2 separate regions of the Homo sapiens genome follow, and region 2 is linked to region 1. The links are contacts of gene promoters, found by promoter capture Hi-C in human tissues and cell types (Jung and others, 2019). All regions are on one chromosome and are shown on one strand. Each heading gives the region's core, a stretch centred on a gene start or on the middle of the fragment in contact. The rest is flanking DNA. Distances are from core to core; before and after follow the strand shown.

Evidence for each region. The method cuts DNA at HindIII sites, captures the fragments that hold promoters and counts their contacts. A contact is called where the count stands out against the background at its distance.
Region 2: a fragment that was not itself captured here is called in contact with the fragment with the promoter of CTXN2 in region 1 in 2 of the 25 tissues and cell types used here (aorta and mesenchymal stem cells).

The regions. Positions count from the first base shown.
Region 1 is chr15:48,190,318-48,193,017 of GRCh38, forward strand. CTXN2 (cortexin 2) reads left to right here and starts at 1,348. Exons shown (of 2, transcript NM_001145668.2): 1 at 1,348-1,536. CTXN2-AS1 (CTXN2 antisense RNA 1) reads right to left here and starts at 1,392. Exons shown (of 3, transcript NR_184082.1): 1 at 1,268-1,392; 2 at 616-744. RefSeq lists an enhancer at 1,352-1,855. The HindIII fragment of the contact is 12,187 bases long and covers 1-2,700 here.
Region 2 is chr15:48,039,253-48,041,952 of GRCh38, forward strand. All of the region lies in intron 2 of LOC124900354 (a long non-coding RNA gene), which reads left to right. Among named protein-coding and RNA genes, the nearest start is that of SLC24A5, 80 kb to the right of the region's middle. The HindIII fragment of the contact is 5,833 bases long and covers 1-2,700 here.

The sequences.
Region 1 (2,700 bases), core at 98-2,597:
TTTAAAAAGGGTCAATAAAACCATGGCCATGGAAATGTCCCTAGAATAAGATATGTCTTTCAGTCTTTCATAGAGGGCAGTTAGTTCACCTACATTTTAGGACATCTTAATAGTTTAAAATCAAAAAACAACTTTTAAAAAATGTGGTCTTATATGAACTCTCAGTTATACATTGCCCATTTTTTTGTAAGACCATTACATTTCCTAAATCAGTAAATACTCTAAATAATCATGAAGTTTGTCTTCACTTTGTTATTGAATCTAGTTGCAGTTACATTACGTTTTCAAAGTATTTTCTTTAGATGAGTGTCCCAATTCTGTATCTACATTTCCCCCAACGACTCACAGTCCAGTAGTTATAAGGTGAATAATTAAGATTGTAGGGAATCTAAAAGTGCTTGCAACTTGTAGGTTCTGGATAGAGTCGCAAAACATAAATAGAATTGGGAACCCTGTAACTGAGTTTGTTGAAACGGCCAGACCCCTAAAATAAGGATAAAGAGCAAGGTTTCTGTTGTTGTTTTTTTGTTTTCCTTTGCTTTGCTTTGCTTTACCTTGCTTTCAACGTCGGTTAGGTTTAGAATCTACATATTCAACACTGTTTAGAAAACGTACCTGGCAGCTATCTAGAGCTTTATCAGAGCGTTTCCTGGCTGCTATTTTGTTGTCTTCTAGCTTGTGTTGGGGAGACAGGTCTCACCACGCACCATTTCAGCACTACGGACAGCGCCTAGGCGCCTTCTCCTAGAAACGGAAGGGGATTCAGTTGTGTTTGTGTGGAAGAGAGAAGGGAAAGAGTAGAGGAAAAGAACTCCAAACGACACATTCAGTCTCCAGTTAAATCAATACACCTTTCACTCCTGAATTTTCCTTACCGGATAAGAAGAAACGTGTAAGAATTTAGTGCCTACTGTTCTACTGAAAACGGCTGTCACCAAAGCACAGCAAAATGCCCGCAGCACAGCCAGGAATGCAGCAAAGAGAGCAAAACAAGGATTTCAGCAGTAAATCAATTAAACCCTCACTGCCTTAGTAAACAAAGATAATGATGAAATCTAATTGCTAACCTTCAGGGTGTGTCGTGAGAAAAAAAAGGAGTGTCTATTTTTTTCTTCCTCTCTTCCTCTTTCTTTTAGCAGAACTGAAGAATAGAGCCTGTTGCTGCTGGAGCTGATTCCCTTCCCCTCCTCATCTCCCACCTCCTTTCAGTCTCACATACACACACAGATGCTGCCACAGACACACGCGAGCGCAAATATTTACACACTGCCACACCGAAGAAATCCATGCACGTTTTCCTGCAAACGCGCGCGCGCACACGTACTTCGGCGGGCGCCCACGTCCTCTGTCTCACCAACAGACACAGACATTTACACTTCTAGGCCAGGAAAGCGCTAACCAGGGCCCTGTGACTCTACGCAGGTTCCAGAACACGCCTTCTACATTTGTTACTGAACCGATCAGCGAACACAGACAAACGTGCCAACACTTAAGTCTACTGGCTGGACTTCATCTCCATGGCAACAAGCATGGAAGGTGAGACATCGCTGTCTGCGAAGTAACTTTCTCCCCCTTCCCTCCGCATTAACTGACAGCGTTCCAAATGCAGGTCCAGATGAGAAGCATGTCCTCATTCTCTTGTATTTCTGAAGCAAAAGAGCGGGGGGTGGGGCGGTGGGTGGAGGAGCCAGTAGGTCTGATAAGTTCAAATTCTAAAGGAGAAACAGCACCCCTAATGCTAGCGCCACTGCTGATGCGGCTGCCAGGCGGGGGAAAAGTGTTGTGTACGTGCAGATTGCTGATGCTTCTCCCATAATGTTTTGTAGGAAGTTTCCATGCTTCTTCGGTTTAGTGCGTAGAAAGAGACCTGGAAACAAACAACGCAGAATGATGATGATGGTCTAGGTTTCTTTAATGAGATATCTGGAGAATTTTCAGACCAGGTTTCCCAGTGCGTTGGAAGGATTGAGTGTCAGAGTCCTTGAGCCATCCAAAGATTCTCTTAAGAGAGAAATTCTCTTAAGGTTGAAATCTGAGGGTTTAGGGGTGGATTCTGGCAGATCCTAAGGTCTGGGATCTCTGGAAAGCCCTGAAATTTATGCATTTCACCATGATGAAGACATCTAGGTTTGTAATTTAAGGTTTTCCTTTTATTCCAACACATTCGATTCTTAATGATTAACTACCTCTGTGCAGATGTGGTTTCAATAATGCTTCTTTTCTCTCTTTTACTGGGATATAATCTTTATATTTTGTGTGGAGTGTGTATATGTATGGAATGGTTCATTATTTTTTAAGCTTGGGTTTTCTTATATGTCTTATTTCATGAAATTATGAATGTCATCATTAGCAGTAGAGATTATTATATCTAATGACCAGTGCTAAAATACTTTCTACCTAGAACATCATATTCCACTCTAATAGTTATTATTTCAGGTTTATTGTTTGGAATACCATTACTAGAGAAATAAACAAGAGGAAAAACCTGTTGATTAAAATAAAACACAGGAGGTTCTTTCTTTAATGGGTACACACTTTTTAACATTAGTTTCTGTAATTGTGCATTGTTGCATGATTAAATGATTTTATCTGAAAGGTATATTTTTATATCTCTAGTAAGGTTATTTCACAGAAGACATAAACATCACTAACAATATTCATGAATATGAAAGGCTGCATATCAGGTATAAAAATACTATC
Region 2 (2,700 bases), core at 145-2,644, 150 kb before region 1:
AATTACTGAGGCTTCTAAGCCTCAGTTTCTTTGCCTGAAGAACTAGGATAATAAAACTTTATGGCGTTTGTACAAAGGTTAGAGATAATGTATGTCATGAGCTTGCACTGAGTAGGTGCTCAATAGAAAGTCTCAGCCCAGATTGGGGGTCAGGCCTGGGTAAGCAGAAATCACCTATTGCTCTTGCAGTGGTTGCTGAATTTCTCAGTGACACACCTGTACCTGGACAAGAAACACAATTGTCTGAACAAGAATAAAGTTAAAGGCCAAAGCACTCATCCTGCAGGCCCTTCCTAACTCCCTTTGGGACTTCTCACCAGGACCCTGTCTTAGGGAGGCATCAGTTCAGTTAGTTTCTCCTACATTATTGCATATTTTTTAGGCAATTTAGGTTGGATGTAAACAATAAGTAACTAAAAATAATGAGTGAAACACTAGGATTTAGAAGGAATTTTGATCTCATTTTTGGGTGTTTACTTAAGTGTGTAGAAAAGTGCTTTATAAAAAGCCCTGACAGCAAAACAGGCTGGTTGGGTTATTCCCTAAAGCTAGTATGCTCTCCAAGTAAGTTTTGAGCCTGGGATAGCACAGTGGCTCACAGTATACCAGATTAAAACATTTAAAACACAAAAATCTGGTGTGATAAACCTAACTTAGAGTCACAAATCTCAAAAAAAAAAAAAAAAAAAAGATTGTAAAGACAAGTCCATGATTTTTTGGGGTAACTCCATGACAGAAAGGTACAAATGAAATCTGAGCAGATAAGGCCTCCTGAAAAATCAAGATGTGATGGAAATCGCATTTCTGTACCTAAGTCAGTGGTAGGGATTCTTGGGAGGCTCCCTCTGCTGAGTTTTCTCATGAATCCCAACTTTCTATTCCCTCTGTAAGTGGAAAATGGGAGAGAAAAGCAAGACAAATGGATAAAAATGCACTCTGTCTCAAGATAGTATTCATAAGGAGCCCTCTACAAAGAATTTCTTCAAAAGAGAGAGATGAAAGGGGGTCTGGTTTTTGCTGGCATTTGAGCTGGCATTTGCAGCATTACCGTATGACTTCGAGCAGGGCATGAGCAGCTCTTTGATTGCCAAAGAACAGTTGCACCTCTGTCAGAACAGCCCTCATGACTCATGCGGCTTAGCGGCAAAGCAAGGGATAAGAGCAGATGTGAGGGGAAGATCACAGCAGAGGGAAAGTAGTTTGAATACCAAAAAAAGAACATATACAGAAAAGAGTACAAAAGAAGCGTGAGCATGAGGAAAGGTGAAAAGGACAAATTATTTGGTAGTCAGCACTGTGGCAGAGCACCTGTTGTCTTTAGAGACAACAGCATATCCAGGAGGAAATGCATTGTTCTTTCTTGATCATAAAACTAAATGACTGCCTAGAAAGTGTGTCCGTGGGAGCAAACACCTTCCTTTTCTGTTGCCCTCATGCAACAGAAGCCTGATCTATATTGCAGAGTGTGGGAAACTTATTCAAATACTATTAGTTTGAAAATTAACACTTTTTAATAGTGCTTACTATGTGCCAGGTACTCTGCTAAACTCTACAAAAATGGAATCATTTAATCTTCATGGCAACCTGAGAGATGGACAAGAAAACTGATGACCTTGTCTCTTTCAGTGACTCGTCACGGCTATCCTTATCTCCGTCCTTCACCACTGCATTAGCAATTATTATTTTTTTAACTCTTACTATATCAGGTGCTCCTTACATCATCATACATCCCTCATCATTTTAGTCCTTTCAACAAGGACTAAAATGCTGTGGGCACTATTTTCATTTCCACTTTCAATGAAATGTTAATATGATCATTTTACAATGAGACTTAGGAAGGCTAACCTACATAAAATGGTAAAACTGAATGGAAATTTCAAGAAAGATCCTGCTTAGCCTGTCCTCAGAGCTGGTGCCCAGAACCACCATGACATCCATATAAGGCAATAAACAATTCATTGGCATCTGGTGTATTTAGCGATATGAGAAATTCTGGTCCCAAGGAATTTCATGAGAGCCATAAAGTTGCTTGCTACTTCCACTCTCTGGTGGATGGGTTGCCAGACACCTGGCATTAAATCATAGGATATTAGAGCTCCCCATCTCTGTGTCACCCCCATTGTATCGACAATGAAACTGAGGTACACAGTGCTAACTAAAGTCAGAATCAGTATTCAAAAATCGCATGACTACAGTCTACCACCCTCTTTCAAGAAATTCTTGGCCCGGAAAAATGGATCTATATTAATCCAGCCCATTTTTACTGGATGTTTATGTCTTCACTGAATGACAAAGCACAGGACACAGGACTGGAACATAAATTTTGGCCCTGCTTTCATTGTTAATGGGATTAGAGGTCTTTTACTGTTCCATTTACTGACCGGTCTTGGAAAAGAATCTTATTCTGTCCTCTGTGAATAAACCTCACTTGATGAAATGACTTCTGCAAACTCCAGAAATGTTCTTAATTACATTAAAATTAGTCCTAAATTACCAGAAAAGTCTACTTGAAAATGTTTGTCAATTATTTTACTTCCAGATGGCAGACAACCACAAATCAAATCCAAAATGCATGCTGACATCTTTTAGTAGCAATCCCATATTTGGCCACAATCAACTGACTAATTCCTCAGAAAATTTATTCATTTGTTTAAAGAAAACCAACAGCACTTACTGTGTACTCTTTAAACCCCATGTAAT